5 separate regions of the Homo sapiens genome follow, and regions 2, 3, 4 and 5 are each linked to region 1. Evidence: promoter capture Hi-C in 16 types of primary human blood cells and fetal thymus (Javierre and others, 2016). All regions are on one chromosome and are shown on one strand. The core of a region is centred on a gene start or on the middle of the fragment in contact, and the rest is flanking DNA. Distances in the headings are between cores, read along the strand shown.

Region 1 (2,920 bases), core at 245-2,744:
CAGGACTCTCCCCCATCACAGACCAGGGCTGTTCTATGATGGCCCAAGATGCTCCACATCACAAGTCCAGATTGTGCCTGTAACTTATCAGAACTGGTCCCCAGCAGAGCCAAGTACTGTCCCAAACAGCTCAGGAATGTCCCCTATCCAAAGCCCAGCACTTTTCCCCATTATAACCAGCATTGTCTCTGCCAAATATCAGGGCTTATTTCCTATTCACCAGGTCTGAAATTAAAAAAAAAAAAAAAATCCCATTGTTGTCTTTTTCAATCCCCAGGACTATCCCTATGTTGCTGTCTAGGCCAGTACCTTCCAGACTGTCCCTACCATGGTCCAGCACTGTCCTCTCCACACCCCGGGACTGTCCCCATCACAGCTGAGGACTCAGCCCAATTATCTCCATTACAGGATATCTCTATCTTCATCAGAGCCTAGGAATGTCCCATCATGAGTTCAGGGCCATTCTATGACACCAGAACTGTGCCATGATGAGACGGTCCACATCAGTCCCAAGTGGACCTGTCAAAGCCCAGTACTGCCCCACCACAGTCCAGGAGTGTCACCACTAAAGCCCAGATTGCCCACATACCCCAGGTATCCCAGGACTATCCCTATCAGTCACTAAGAGCCGAAAAAAGTGAAATTCTGCCCTGACATTCATCAGCTAGGATAAGAGACTCAAATAAAGTCAGGTGTAAAGTTAACAGACAGTTCTCCCAAGGTTACACCGCAGCTGTGAAGGCTTGTAATGACCCCTTTCTTTGGCTGTTTCCTTCCTCACTGAGAAACCTTGTTCTCTGAAATCATAGACTCTGGGAAACGCTGCTGCTGTTTGACATCGCACAGTCAGAAGGGATCGTCTCAGCCAGCCTGCAGCATCTGTCACTTTGACCATGAGACGCTGCCTCGATTTCCAATCCAGGTGCAAAGCTTCAGATAGGAGTTTGGGAAGCACAGCAATCCCCATCTCTTATTTTTTTCAACTTTCATTCCAAGAAAATAGGACCTTGAGTCCAATTCCCAGAGCTGAGACTTGAGGTCCAACTCTGCCTTCACCTGCACCCGGCCCTGGAGGTCTGGGCCCCTTTATTCCAGCTCCCGCACAGGCTGATGCCCCACCGCACCCCAGGGCTCCGCTCCCCAAATCACAACCTCCCCACCCCCACGCCTCCCTCATTACAGGGTCCTCCACCATGTTTCCCTTTTTTTTTTTTTTTTTACCTCCCCGCCAATTACTTGCCCCACCTCATCCGCGTCTACCTGCTCCCCCTCACCCCATTAAAGCCTCGTGCTCCTTTCCAAAGGGCGCCATCCTCCTCCGCGCCCTGCAGCGGAACCCCAGGGCGGGAGGAGCGGCGCCGAGTCGGACCGGCTGCAGGCCAGTGGTCTTCCCGGAAGTGCGCCTCCCCCGGTTATTTCCCAGACCCCGGCGCGGGGCTGCGAACCCACCTGCCCCAGAGCGGCTGCGGCCATGATCCGTGCGGCGCGTAACTGTGCCCGCCCGGGGCGCGGCTCCGAAGAGAGACGTTCCGGCCACGCCCCGCTCACGCCTCCTTCTGGGGGAAGGCGGCCGACCAGCGCCCCAGGCCGTCCCAGCTCCAGGGCGTCGGCAGGGAGCCGGACACTGCTGCGGGGCGCAGGCGCTGGTGGGAGGGCAGGACTTGAAATACGGTCCCTGCCAGGCGAAGTGGCTCAGGTCTGTAATCTTAGCACTTTGGGAGGCCGAAGCGGGCGGATTACCTGAGGTCAGGAGTTAGAGACCAGCCTGGTCCAACATGATGAAACCCCGTCTCTACTAAAAATACAAAAAATTAGCCGGGCGTGGTGGCGGGCGCCTGTAATCTTAGCTACTCGGAAAGCTGAGGCAGGAGAATTGCTTGAATCGGGGAGGCAGAGGTTGCAGTGAGCCGAGATGATGCCACTGCACTCCAGCCTGGGCGACAGAGTGAGACTCCGTCTCAAAAAAAAAAAAAAAAAAAAGTCCTGGCTTGGTGGCTCACACCTGTAATCCCAGCACTTTGGGGGCCAAGGCGGGTGGATCACCTGAGGCCAGGAGTTCAAGACCAGCCTGGCCGACATGGGGAAACCCCGTCTCTACTAAAAATACAAAAATTAAGGCCAGGCACGGTGGCTTACGCCTGTAATCCCAGCACTTTGGGAGGCCGAGGTGGGCGGATCACAAGGTCAGGAGTTCAAGACCCGCCTGACCAACATGGTGAAACCCCGTCTCTACTAAAGATACAAAAATTAGCCGGGTGTGGTGGTGTGCGCCTGTAATCCCAGCTACTAGGGAGGCTGAGGCAGGAGAATCATTTGAACCCTGGAGGCGGACGTTGCGGTGAGCCGAGATCGCGCCACTGCATTTCCAGCCTGGGTGACAGGGTGAGACTCCGTCTCAAAATAAATAAATAAATAAAAATAAATACATAAAAATACAAAAATTAGTCGAGCGTGGTGCCGGGGGCCTGTAATCCCAGCTATTCGGGAGGCTGAGGCAGGAGAATCGCTTGAACCCGGGAGGCGGAGGTTGCAGTGAGCCGACATTGCACCACAGCACTCCAGCCTGGGCGACAGAGTGAGACTCCGTCTCAAATTAAAAAAAAAAAAAAAAAATCGTATCCCTCGGCCATCGTGTCTCGGCAATCCTACCCTGGGACACTCTGTCTCCAAATTCTACCCCCACAGTGCCCCCAAGTCCTGTCCCCGGGTCACTATCCTGCCACCCCTAACAGCCACAGGCCCAAACAGCCAAACCGCGGGACCCTTCCCTCACAGGGCGTCGCCCTGTTTTTCTGCGCTCCGCCCCAGTCCTCCTGCCCCACCCGCCAGCCCCGGGCTGTAGGGTCGGGGCCCACTGACAGCTCCCGCCCCCGCCGCGGCCAATCAGCGGTTGGTGCACACGCCCCCCCGGCCACAGCCA
Region 2 (3,219 bases), core at 200-2,699, 180 kb before region 1:
GGGGACTGGGGTGGGGCTGGGGATGCTCCGCTGTCCCCGGACCCACTGCTGTCTTCACCTCCTGGCTCTCCCAAGGCAGCTCTACACTCACCCGTCTCCGAAGGGGCCCCCGTAATTCCCCCATCCTCTGGGCTCCCACTTCCCACCCCTGATGCCCGGGTAGGGGCCTCCACCTGCGGCCCGCCCGACCACCTGCTGCCTCCGCTGGGCACCCCGCTGCCCCCAGACTGGGTGACGCTGGAGGGGGACTTTGTGCTCATGTTGGCCATCTCGCCCAGCCACCTAGGCGCTGACCTGGTGGCAGCTCCGCATGCGCGCTTCGACGACGGCCTGGTGCACCTGTGCTGGGTGCGTAGCGGCATCTCGCGGGCTGCGCTGCTGCGCCTTTTCTTGGCCATGGAGCGTGGTAGCCACTTCAGCCTGGGCTGTCCGCAGCTGGGCTACGCCGCGGCCCGTGCCTTCCGCCTAGAGCCGCTCACACCACGCGGCGTGCTCACAGTGGACGGGGAGCAGGTGGAGTATGGGCCGCTACAGGCACAGATGCACCCTGGCATCGGTACACTGCTCACTGGGCCTCCTGGCTGCCCGGGGCGGGAGCCCTGAAACTAAACAAGCTTGGTACCCGCCGGGGGCGGGGCCTACATTCCAATGGGGCGGAGCCTGAGCTAGGGGGTGTGGCCTGGCTGCTAGAGTTGTGGTGGCAGGGGCCCTGGCCCCGTCTCAGGATTGCGCTCGCTTTCATGGGACCAGACGTGATGCTGGAAGGTGGGCGTCGTCACGGTTAAAGAGAAATGGGCTCGTCCCGAGGGTAGTGCCTGATCAATGAGGGCGGGGCCTGGCGTCTGATCTGGGGCCGCCCTTACGGGGCAGGGCTCAGTCCTGACGCTTGCCACCTGCTCCTACCCGGCCAGGATGGCTGAGGGCGGAGTCTATTTTACGCGTCGCCCAATGACAGGACCTGGAATGTACTGGCTGGGGTAGGCCTCAGTGAGTCGGCCGGTCAGGGCCCGCAGCCTCGCCCCATCCACTCCGGTGCCTCCATTTAGCTGGCCAATCAGCCCAGGAGGGGCAGGTTCCCCGGGGCCGGCGCTAGGATTTGCACTAATGTTCCTCTCCCCGCGGGTGGGGGCGGGGAAATTCATATCCCCTGTTCGTCTCATGCGCGTCCTCCGTCCCCAATCTAAAAAGCAATTGAAAAGGTCTATGCAATAAAGGCAGTCGCTTCATTCCTCTCAGACCTTCTGCCCTTCCTCCATCCGACAGCCCGCGGGAGGACTCAGACTCCAGCACTTCCAGCAGCGCCTGCCCTCTATGGACGACAGCCCGGAGCTGCCCACGGGCTGCAGCCAGTATGCCAGGGAGCTGCCCTCTTCTTCCACAACAGCTGGCTCTGGGGTTCTCAAGATTTATTCAGGATCGTGTTAACGGAGGCGGTGGGAGGATAGGGTCCCTGACGTGCCGGGGACACACACAGAGAACCCTCCCCGCCCCCGCAAGGGAGGGGGGAGGCTCGCTTTTTCTTAAAAATATAAATGTATTTATCTGCATTATCACGTCCCTGGGGCACCCAGCTGGCCGGCCCGTGGGCCACAGGGCAGGAAGGGAACAGGGCGTAAGTCTCAGCAAGGCGGAGGAGAGCTCCGCCAGGTGGGGATGTGGGGCAGCCTCACAGGGCCCCGTGCTGGGCCTGGTATCGGGACAGCACGGCGCGGTAGTGGGACAGCTCCTGGCGCACGGCCACAACTTCCTGCCGCAGCAGGGCGTTCTCCTTCTCCAGGAAGGCCGCCCGCACCGATATCTGGTTCTCCTTGAGCCGCCGGGCGTCACGGGACCGCTTGGCTGCCTCGTTGTTCTTGTACCGCCGGCTCCAGTATTTCTCATCCTGCAGGAGAAGAGGGGGAGAGCACTGAGGTCCAGAGGGACCCAGGTCCCAGCGAGAGAGGAAGGGAGCCCCAGCAGCGGGGCCTAAACCACACCAGGTCTCTGCTGGGATAGGTACCCAAGGGTCTGCCTTTCTAGGGCCCTGGTTGCTAAGGAGATTGGGCCCCTAGCAACAGTAAAGGCATGAGATAGACCCCCCACCCTCAAGCAACTCGCTTCAAGTCTCCACTCTGCAAAGCGGACCCCAGCCCTCCCCACATGATAAAGGCCTGCATGCAGTTAGCTCTTGCTTGCTAAGGATGCTTGTTCCCTAGCAACAAGGCCTTCATGGTCTGAGGGCTTCTCCCAATGAAGAGCACTGCCCTGCCCTGCACATTGCCTTTCCAGATCCTGGTTGCTAAGGAAAGCTTGGTGCCCTGGTGATGGGGTTTGGTGTCCCATAAAATCCTCGCAGAGCTGGGGCCTTCTGACCTGGTTGCCAAGGCAACCTCATCCATCCTTGGCAAACAAAAGTGAGGTCTAAGTGGTTTCAATGACTGTGGCCAGCCTCTGACCTGCTGGCCTTGAACTGAGGCCAGAGAATAGCCTCCTCCCCAGTAGGACCTGACTGAGAGAAGAGCTGTCTCTTAGGAAAGGGGACTATCCTGAGACCTCCCCAGAGGATTATACCTAAAGTCCTCCCATCCTGGAAGTTGGTTCCTAAGGAAGACTCCTCCTTAGTAACCAAGGACCACGGGGCTCAGAAAGATGCTCTCTACTCCACTATTTAATTAAAGCCCAGTTCCTGCTTGTGAGGGTAAATCCAGTCCCTAGCAACAGGGCCCTCTAGAAGGAGAAACCACTGGTGTAGATCTGACTTCCAGGCCAGTCCTAGGTGCTTCAAGTAGCTATGTGTTACGCAAGGGTATGGCAAAGTCTTGTTTGTTTTTGAGATGGAGTCTCGCTCTGTCGTTCAGGCTGGAATGCAGTGGCATGATCTCGGCTCATTGCAACCTCCACCTCCCAGGTTCAAGCGATTCTCCTGCCTCAGCCTCCCAAGTAGCTGGGATTATAGGTGCCCGCTACCATGTCCGGCTAATTTTTGTTCTTTTTTTTTTTTTTTGAGATGGAGTTCTCACTCTGTCGCCCAGGCTGGAGTGCAGTGGCGCGATCTCGGCTCACTGCAACCTCCGTCTCCTGGGTTCAAGCGATTTTCCTACATTAGCCTCCCAAGTAGCTGGGACTACAGATGAGTGCCACCATGCCCAGCTAATTTTTGTATTTTTTTGTAGAGACGGGGTTTCACCATGTTGGCCAGGATGGTCTCCTGATCTCGTGATCTGTCCGCCTCGGCCTCCC
Region 3 (3,240 bases), core at 512-3,011, 160 kb after region 1:
GTGGCTCATGTCTGTAATCCCAGCACTTTGGGAGGCCAAGGCGGGTGGATCACGAGGTCAAGAAGAGAAAAAAAAAAAAACCATCCTGGCCAACATGGTGAAACCCTGTGTCTAATAAAAATACAAAAATTAGCTGGGTGTGGTGGCAGGCGCCTATAGTCCCAGCTACTCTGGAGGCTGAGGCAGGAGAATCACTTGAACCCGGGAGGCGGTTGCAGTGAGCCAAGACTGTGCCACTGCACTCCAGCCTGGCAATAGAGCAAGACTCTGTCTCAAAAAAAAAAAAAAATCTTTTATAGAGACAGGGTCTCACCATGTTGTCCAGGCTGGTCTTGAACTCCTGAGCTCAAGCTATCCTCCCACCTCAGCCTTCCAAGATGCTAGGATTATAGGTGTGAGCCACTGCCCCTGACCTATAATTATTATTATTATTATTTTAGACAGGGTCTGACTCTGTCGCCCAGGCTGGAGTGCAGTGGCGCGATCTCAGCTCACTGCAATCTCTGCCTCTGGGGTTCAAACGATTCTCCCACCTCAACTTCCCGAAGGGCTGGGATTACAGGTGCCTGCCACCACCCCCAGCTAATTTTTGTATTTGTAGTAGAGATAGGGTTTCACCATGTTGGCCAGGCTGGTCTCAAACTCATGTCCTCAAGTGATCCTCCCACCTCGGCCTCCCAAAGTGTGGGGATTATAGGCGTGAGCCACCATGCCTGGCCTGATCTATAATTCTTATGTAAGTTTTCCTAAAAACATCTGTAAACTGCAAAAATAGGCACTAAATATAATACATCTGTCAGGCATGGTGGGATGCACCTATAATGACAGATACTCAAGAGGCTGAGGCAGAAGCACCTGAACCTAGGAGTTCCAGGTGAGCCTTGGCAACAGAGTAATAACCCCATCTCAAAAAAGAAACAAATAGTAAAATGTATTAAATATATATTTATGATATAGTTTGACTCTGTGTTCCCCCCCAAATTTCATCTCAAAATGTAGTCCCCACGTGTCGAGGGAGGGAAATGATTGGATTACGGGGGTGGTTCCCCCGCCGCTGTTCTCATGATAGTGAGTGAATTCTCACGAGATCTCATGGTTTTATAAATGTTCGTTTTTCCTGCACCCTCACATACTTCTCCCTCCTGCCGCCATGAGAAGAAGCTTCTTTCTTCCCCTTCTGCCATGACTGAGTTTTCTGAGGCCTCTCCAGACATGTGGAACGGTGAGTCAATTACACCTCTTTCCGTTATAAATTACCCAGTCTTGGATTTTTTTTTTATAGCGGTGTGAAAACAGACTAGTACTATCTATCAATCTATCTATAAAACAAGGCCTATGGAAAAAGGGAATTGGGGCTGACCGCGACTCCTAATTATCATGCAAGCACAGTTTGCAGGACTTGTTAAATTACTAATAAATTAGGAAATGGCACTAATTTAGCTTTAATTTTTTTTTTTTTTTTTTTTTGAGACGGAGTCTCGCTCTGTCACCCAGAGCACAGCACTGCCGGAGTGCAGTGGCATGATCTCAGCTCACTGCAACCTCCGCCTCCCAAGTTCAAGCAATTCTCTGCCTCAGCCTCCCAAGTAGCTGAGACTACAGGTGCGTACCACCACACCTGGCTAATTTTTGTATTTTTAGTAGAGACAGGGTTTCACTATATTGGCCAGGCTGGTCTCAAACTCCTGACCTCATGATCTGCCCATCTTGGCCTCCCCAAGTGCTGGGATTACAGGCATGAGCCACCACGCCCAGCCTTATTTAGCTTTAAAAACACTGGCTAATGTGAACCAACAAGAGGAAGGTGGAGTTGATGGGCACTGGGAACGTCTTACGAGGAGACTTGGCCACACTCGGCTGTATTTGTGAATTGTGCATTTCATTGCCACTATTTGGGGGGCCACTGCTTTCTGGGAGAAAGCAGTGTGAACTGTGACATCCAGTTCACTAGTCCTCAAAACCCAGTCTTCTAGTTTCTCAATACATGAGCTATTGTATCACAAAAGCACGCGCTGTAGCAGAACAGGTGATTACCATTGTTCCTGTTTTGCAAAGAAGGCAACAGGCTCAGAGAAGGCCAGTGCCTCGCCCCAAGACATGCTAGCTCTGACTAGGATGCCATGACCACGCTGTCCCCTGCCCACTACACTCACCCGGTGTGTAGCCCCAAGGCTCATAGTAGGAGGGGAAGACTCCAAGGTGACAGCCACGGACAAACTCCTCATAGTCCACAGGGAGCAGGGGGCTTGTGGAGGAGAGGAACTCCGGGTGGAAAATCACCTGGTAGTGAAAAAGAAGGACTCAGCCCAAGTGCCTTATTTAGCTAAGCCCTGAGATCCCAAGGTGGCCCAGAGAGGGTAAAAAGCTTGTCTAGCATCACACAGCATGTGTTTGGCAGGACCAATGTTCAAACCCAGGTCTGCCTGCCTCAGAAGCCAGGGTTCTTTCTAACCACAGCAATACCTTTGATAAAACTTATAGGGGAATGGAGTGTGTGAGGCCCAGGACCCAACCCCTTCCCTCTGCCGTGCCCAACCCAGCCCTGACCAAATGCCCTCACCTTCACCCTGTCGGCACTGCTATTGAAGAGGCCGATTCGGCGGATGGTGGTCAGGATGGGGTCTGAGGAGTCATCCAGCATATTGTGGGTGCACACAGGGGGGAAAGACTGCCGCTGCAGGAGCCACAAGAAGGGTAAGGGGTCATGGAAGGGACAGAGAACTCCCTACTTCCTCATGAGCCATGCGGACCCTGGGGGAGCCAAGGAGACCACAAATGCACCGGACGTGGGGCAACAAACCCAAGTGATCACCAGGAGTTGTGGATTCCCACTAGTACAACCTGTAAAGGTTTTCTTTCTTTTCTTTTAAATTATTATTATTTATTTTTGAGGCGGAGTCTCGCTCTGTCGCCCAGGCTGGAATGCAGTGGCACAATCTCGGCTCACTGCAAGCTCCACCTCCCAGGATCATGCCATTCTCCTGCCTCAGCCTCCCGAGTAGCTGGAACTACAGGCGCCTACCACCACGCCCGGTTAATTTTTTGTATTTTTAGTAGAGACGAGGTTTCACTGTGTTAAATCAGGATGGTCTAGATCTCCTGACCTCGTGATCCACCTGCCTTGGCCTCCCAAAGTGCTGGGATTACAGGCGTGAGCCATTGCGCTCAGCCTAATTTTTTTTTTTTTTTTTTTTAATAGAGATGGGGTTTCACTATGTTGGCCAAGTTGGTCTCGAACTC
Region 4 (3,042 bases), core at 443-2,942, 130 kb before region 1:
TGGTGGCGGGTGCCTGTAGTCCCACCTACTTGGGAGGCTGATGCAGGAGAATCGCTTGAACCCAGGAGGCAGAGGTTGCAGTGAGCCGAGATCACACCACTGCACTCCAGCAAGGGCAACAGAGCAAAAACTCCATCATAAAAAAAAAAAAGAAAAGAAAAGAAAAGAAAAAAATGAATAATCATAACCCTACATACAAAAGCTAAAACTGGCCCATGCCTATAATCTCAGTACTTTGGGAGGCCAAGGCAGGAGGATTGCTTGAGCCCAGGAGTTCAAGACCAGCCTGGGAAACACAGTGAGACCCCATCTCTACAAAAAATGTAAGAATTAGCGGGGCATGGTGGCACATGCCTGTGGTGCCAGCTACTGGGGAGGCTGAGGTGGAAGGATCCCTTGAGCCCAGCTGTGATCAGACCACTGGCACTCCATCCTAGGTGACAGAGTGAGAACCTGTCTCAAAAAACAAAAGCTGAACTCTCCAGCTTGACACGATAGTGCAGAGGGAACATTCTCAAGGCAAGACATGAAAGCTGTTAGTTCTTTAAGTCCTGGGCCAGAAATGGACACAATTTCACTTGCACTATATTAAAGTGGTCAAGGCAGTCATGGGCCCGCCCAGATCCAAGGGAAAGGGAGTCCAGGAGTCTGTGGTGGCTTGAACCCACCACACCCACTAATAGTATCAGGAAACGCTTAGCACTTATCAGTGCAGGGGTGTGGCAGCCCCATTTCTTGGAGGAGGAGAGGAGGAGTTAAATAACACCTCCAGGTCACCAGCCTGCAGAAGGCAGAGCCTGTCCATGAACTTGGGCCCACCTGTGCTCTTTCCCAAACTCTGCACGGGCACCAAAGATTCTTACCTGTTTTTTCCTCTGCTGGCTTCCTGGCCCTGAGCACCGTGCCTGGCATTGTAATAAATACTCTGCAAGTATTGATTTTATTTATGTTATTTTTATTTTTTTTGAGACAGTCTCGTTCTGTCACCCAGGCTGGAGTGCAGTGGCACAATCTCGGCTCACTGCAAACTCCACCTCCTGGGTTCAAGCGATTCTCCTGCCTCAGCTTCCTGAGTAGCTGGGATTACAGGCACCCGCCACCATGCCCGGCTAATTTTTGTATTTTTAGTGGAGATGGGGTTTTGCCATGTTGGCCAGGCTGGTCTCAAGCTCCTGACCTTAGGTGATCCGCCCACCTTGGCCTCCCGAAGTGCTGGGATTACAGGTGTGAACCACCGTGCCCAGCCACTGCAGGTATTGATTTTCCAACACATACAGGGCATTTCCTGTGTGCGAGGCACTGCTTTACAAAATCATCACATTTAATCTTCAAGCAACCCCATGAGGTAGTTCTGTGAGGTAGAATCATAGAAATGGCCGTGAGTAGGCCAGGCACGGTGGCTCATGCCTGTAATCCCACCACTTTGGGAGGCTGAGGCGGGTGGATCACGAGGTCAAGAGTTCGAGACCAGCCTGGCCACCATGGTGAAACCCCGTCTCTACTAAGAATACAAAAATTAGCCAGGGTTGGCAGTGCATGCATGTAATCCCAACTACTCAGGAGGCTGAGGCAGGAGAATCGCTTGAACCCGGGAGGCGGAGGTTGCAGTGAGCCAAGATCGTGCCACTGCACTTCAGCCTGGGTGACAAAGCAAGACTCCATCGCCAAAAAAAAAAAAAAAAAGAAATGGCCATGAGTGTAGGTAAAATCGGGTTAAATATTGGCACTTTCAAATAGTTCCATCTACTCATCCCCATTTAACAGGTGAGGAAACAGACTCAGAGAAACTCAGTAACTTCTTGTTGTTTTTGAGACAGGGTCTTGCTCTGTTGCCCAGGCTGGGGTGCGGGGGCACAATCACAGTTGACTGCAGCCTCAACCTCCTGGGCTCAAGCAATCCTCCCACCTCAGCCTCCCAAGTAGCTGGGACCACAGGTGCATGCCACCATGCTTGACTAATTTTAAAAAAAATTTTTTTTTTTTGTAAAGATAGGGTCTCACTTTTTTTGCTCAAGCTGGTCTTGAACTTGGGCTCAAGTGATCCTCCCATCTCAGCCTCCCAAAGTGCCAGGATTACAGGCACAAGCCGCTGTGCTCAGCGAGGTGCAGTAACTTGACTGAAGTCACAAGGTGCTGGTGAGGCTGGGACTTCCAGCAGGAACTCAGCCTCAGGTGGAAAGACCCCAGGGTCTGTGCTCTGAGGCCTCTCCCATGCACTGTGGTGCTCAGGACAGAGGCTTGGATGGATTGAGTGAGTGAATGAATGACTTTGGCAGGGGGTGGGTGAAGAGACTCCTGTCCCCCCAGCCCTGCCTCCTGACCATGTCCTCTCTCCTCCCCACAGCCGTCAAGGGATTCTGGGCCACCCGCCCTTCCTTCTCCACCTTCTACTTCGTCTTTGCCATTTTTGTGGTGTCCACCATCTTTCACTGCCACCAGCACCTGGCTCTGGTGCCTGCGCCCTGGGCATACTCAGCCCGTGTGGTCCTGGCCCCCAGACACCTGCCCCGGGAGGACCTGTTCACTATCAACTCCAAGGGCCGCCTGGGGAACCAGATGGGCGAGTACGCCACGCTGTACGCCCTGGCCAAGATGAACGGGCGGCCCGCCTTCATCCCGGCCCAGATGCACAGCACCCTGGCCCCCATCTTCAGAATCACCCTGCCGGTGCTGCACAGCGCCACGGCCAGCAGGATCCCCTGGCAGAACTACCACCTGAACGACTGGATGGAGGAGGAGTACCGCCACATCCCGGGGCGCTGTGTCCGCCTCACGGGCTACCCCTGCTCCTGGACCTTCTACCACCACCTCCGCCAGGAGATCCTCCAGGAGTTCACCCTGCACGACCACGTGCGCGAGGAGGCCCAGAAGTTCCTGCGGGGCCTGCAGGCCAAGTGGGCAGGGCAGGCGACCTTCGTGGGGGTCCACGTGCGCCGGGGGGACTATGTCCGTGTCATGCCGCGCGTATGGAAGGGGGTGCTGGCCGACCGGCTACCTGCAGCGGGCCCTGGACTGGTTCCGGGCCTGCTGCCGCCTCCCGGT
Region 5 (3,119 bases), core at 386-2,885, 180 kb after region 1:
TCCAGACTCAGCGACAGAGTGAGATTCTATCTGAAAAAAAAAAAAAAAAAATTATGGCTCACTACAGCCTCCACATCCCATCCTCCCACCTCAGCCTCCTGAGTAACTGGGATCACGAGCACGCACCATCATGCCTGGCTAATTTTTTGTATTTTTAGTAGAGACAGAGTTTCGCCATGTTGCCCAGGTGGGTCAGGAACTCCTGGGCTCAAGCTATCCTCTCACCTCGGCCTCCCAAAGTGCTGGGATTCCAGGCATGAGCCACCGCCCTCGGCCACGCCACACATTTCTAACATAGCCCATCCTCTGTCCGTGCCCCAGGGCTGCATTTTTCTAGCCACTGCCGTGTTTCTAAGACTTGCTGTCTCACTTCTGCCTCTGCCACATTTCTCCAGTTGGCTGTTTTCCTCCCTGAGACCATGGCTTTGGTTCTGGGCCTGCTGCCACAGCAGTGGAGAAGCAGCCCCGCTCCTCGCCGACCTGGCTTTTTGCTGCCTGGAGCCTCGCTCTGAGGTCCCTCCCCCTCCCAGCTGTTGTCTGCCCTTTTGCTGGGGGGGGGGGGGGGCTATTCTTAGGCCCCCAGCACGTGGGAAGCAGCTGCCCTCAGGAAGCGACTGGGCTGTTCTGGGTTCCCTTAGGGACACAGTCGGACCTGAATGGATTCCAGACCCCACCCCAAACCAGAGGCTGTGAATGAGTAAAGGAACCACAGTGCCTCTCCATCCCCAGCCTGGACCTGTCTGTCCCTTAGCCCTGCCGCCTGATGGCTTTCTCCTTGGACAACAGCGTGCCGCCTGATGGCTTTCTCCTTGGACAACAGCGTGTCTCTTTCCGTCTTCACCCTGGGGCCCTGGAACTCCCCCTCCTCTCTAATCCCTGATCTGCCCATCTCAGACTCTGTCCTGTGGGTCTGTCCACTGACCTCTCCTCTCTTCCCCGATATTCCATGCTTCTCTCTCCTTCTAGGACTGGCTTTCTGAAACATCTGGTGGCCTCTCTTCTGTCCCCAGTCTATTACTCTTGCCTGTGGCTCCATCCACCCTTCTCCCTTGGTCTGCCTGTCCCCCTCACTCTCCAAGCTTGGCTGTTAGTAACAATAATGACGATGATCATAACAATGACAATCACCGCCCACACAATGTGCTACCTTCATGCCAAGAACTCTACTAACCACTTTGTCCTTATTAACTGTTTCCTCCTCCCAGCACCGCTAGAAGGTAGACGCTATTAGCATGTCCATTAGCCAAGGACACACAGGCAGCAAGTGGAGGGTGAACTTGAACTTCAAGCTCCAGAATCCTGCTCCTTCCTGACCTCAGGCCCACTTCTCCCCAGCTCTGCCTGGCTGGCTGGCATTCTTTTCTGAGACAGAGTCTCGCTCCGTCGCCCAGGCTGGAGTGCAGTGGCCCAATCGCAGCTCACTGCAACCTCCGCCTCCCGGGTTCAAGCGATTCTCCTGCCTCAGCCTCCCGAGTAGCTGGGATTACAGGCACCCGCCACCACACCCAGCTAATTTTTGTATTTTTGGTAGAGACGGGGTTTCGCCATGTTGACCAGGCTGTCTTTCGATCTTGCTCTCTTTCTCTCTGGGTCTGAGGACCTTGGCCTCTTGGATCTCCGTCTCAGTCTGTCTCATACTTGCCATCTGTCTGTCCATTCGCCCATGTCTGGGATCCACCCACCCACTTCCAGGCCCTGCATCTGTCTGGGTGTCCTATCACGCCTCCTTCCTGTGTCCAAGCCTGCCTCGCTCTCTGGCTGGGGCTGTCCACCCTGCACCCTCTCCGTCTGTGGCTCCCACCCCGATGGCAGGCTGTCCACCCGCTTCTGCCCTGGGCTGGGCCACGTCCCACCTTGCAGCCCTTGCTGTTCATGGAATCCAGTGTCCTCTTCAGGGCCGGGGTGGGGGCCTCCAGCAGTTCCACCTGGGTCCTCACGCCCTGCTCCGTGTACGGCCCCACCAGGAAGTAGTTGTCGCCCCATTCGTCCCCTGTCACCTTCGCCTTCGTCTGCAGCACCGTGTAGATGCCACCCACTGTGGGCCCAAGCGTGTGAGGGCAGGCCCCGGCCGAGGTCCATAGTTCTGGGGCCTGGGGTGGGGTGGGCCGGGGATGTAGGGGGCACTCAGGCCCCAGACCTCTAGCTCAGGGGGAAGAGGGGACTGGGAGCCCATAGTTTGGAGTAGGGGTTGGAAGCTTGGATGAGGGGAACACGAGGGCTGGAGGGCAGTCCTCCTGGGTCTAAGGGAGAAGGGGGCTGGGGTCAGGACCCTGAAGGAGGAGGGGGCTCAGGCTAGACTTCTGGGTCTGAGAGAGAAGGGGCTGGGTGCCGGGACCCCTTGGTCTGAAGGAATTAGGCACTGGGGCTCTAAGGATGGCAGAGCTGAGGACTGACTACCCGGACTCAGGTTCCCGAGTTCCCAGCTCACAGGAGCTGGGTTTAAATCGCAGCCAGGCTCCAAAACCCAGTGAGGGAGACCCCCTCATGGCCAATCCAGCTTCTCACCATTGCCCAAGAGAAGCCTGCATGGTCATTCCCTGCCCCCAGGGACCTTGCTGACCTGCCTCCCAATTTCCTCTCCCTGACTAGGGACACCAGCATGCAGGGCTCTGCCTCTCCCATGACCCTATCCCAGACCCAGGAGCCCCAGCCCCCAGCCTCCTCCCATCCTGGAGCCCAGGCCCTGGCGATACCCGGCTGGGTGTTCACGGGCCCCCTCTCCTCCTGGGAGACACAGTCCCTTTCTCCTCCAAGACCCAGCAAAGCAACCCCCCAGACCCTGCTCTTTGAGGTGTGAGATTGGCTTGTTCCTGGGGATTTCAGCCCCAGCCTTCTCCAAGGCCAGAACCTCAGCTTTCTGAAGCCCAAGACACAGAAATGCAGGCTCCTAGCCCCTCCCATCCTAGGGCCCAGCCTCTGACTAACTTAGGACTTCCCAGCCTTCCCCTATTCCAGTACGCATGTGTCCCAGGCCATGGGCTCCTCTACTCCTAGGAACTAATAGCTCAGGCCCTCAGCTCCTTCAAAGCCCAGGCATTCATTACAGTCTCCAGCCCGTCCCATCTTTATTCTTAAGCAGCCAGATCCTCAGGTCCTCCCACCGCCGCTCAGGCCTCCTA

What was found. The method cuts DNA at HindIII sites, captures the fragments that hold promoters and counts their contacts. A CHiCAGO score of 5 or more calls a contact.
Region 2: a fragment that was not itself captured here is called in contact with the fragment with the promoter of BCAT2 in region 1 in 1 of 17 cell types (endothelial precursors); the score reaches 5.9 in endothelial precursors.
Region 3: a contact is called between a fragment that was not itself captured here and the fragment with the promoter of BCAT2 in region 1, in 13 of 17 cell types (endothelial precursors, erythroblasts, megakaryocytes and 10 more). The highest score is 12.6, in endothelial precursors.
Region 4: a fragment that was not itself captured here is called in contact with the fragment with the promoter of BCAT2 in region 1 in 1 of 17 cell types (endothelial precursors); the score reaches 5.1 in endothelial precursors.
Region 5: a fragment that was not itself captured here is called in contact with the fragment with the promoter of BCAT2 in region 1 in 5 of 17 cell types (endothelial precursors, M0 macrophages, erythroblasts and 2 more); the score reaches 6.0 in endothelial precursors.

Annotation. Positions count from the first base shown.
Region 1 is chr19:48,809,535-48,812,454 of GRCh38, forward strand. BCAT2 (branched chain amino acid transaminase 2) reads right to left here and starts at 1,495. Exons shown (of 11, transcript NM_001190.4): 1 at 1,450-1,495. The coding sequence starts at 1,473. It overlaps LOC105372432 (a long non-coding RNA gene), which reads left to right. Exons shown (of 3, transcript XR_936017.4): 3 at 810-1,303. RefSeq lists enhancers at 1,075-1,144, 1,418-1,712, silencers at 1,465-1,684, 2,761-2,920 and a cis regulatory region at 2,574-2,920. The HindIII fragment of the contact is 3,241 bases long and covers 929-2,920 here.
Region 2 is chr19:48,629,171-48,632,389 of GRCh38, forward strand. It overlaps SPHK2 (sphingosine kinase 2), which reads left to right. Exons shown (of 7, transcript NM_020126.5): 7 at 1-1,235. The coding sequence ends at 603. DBP (D-box binding PAR bZIP transcription factor) reads right to left here. Exons shown (of 4, transcript NM_001352.5): 4 at 860-1,882. The coding sequence ends at 1,667. Among named protein-coding and RNA genes, the nearest start is that of DBP, 6.6 kb to the right of the region's middle. The HindIII fragment of the contact is 1,674 bases long and covers 613-2,286 here.
Region 3 is chr19:48,972,060-48,975,299 of GRCh38, forward strand. GYS1 (glycogen synthase 1) reads right to left here. Exons shown (of 16, transcript NM_002103.5): 11 at 2,561-2,674; 12 at 2,154-2,280. Among named protein-coding and RNA genes, the nearest start is that of FTL, 8.4 kb to the left of the region's middle. The HindIII fragment of the contact is 1,204 bases long and covers 1,160-2,363 here.
Region 4 is chr19:48,677,681-48,680,722 of GRCh38, forward strand. It overlaps the pseudogene SEC1P. Among named protein-coding and RNA genes, the nearest start is that of NTN5, 6.2 kb to the left of the region's middle. The HindIII fragment of the contact is 8,665 bases long and covers 1-3,042 here.
Region 5 is chr19:48,989,449-48,992,567 of GRCh38, forward strand. GYS1 (glycogen synthase 1) reads right to left here. Exons shown (of 16, transcript NM_002103.5): 2 at 1,854-2,035. Among named protein-coding and RNA genes, the nearest start is that of GYS1, 2.3 kb to the right of the region's middle. RefSeq lists an enhancer at 317-708. The HindIII fragment of the contact is 1,116 bases long and covers 1,078-2,193 here.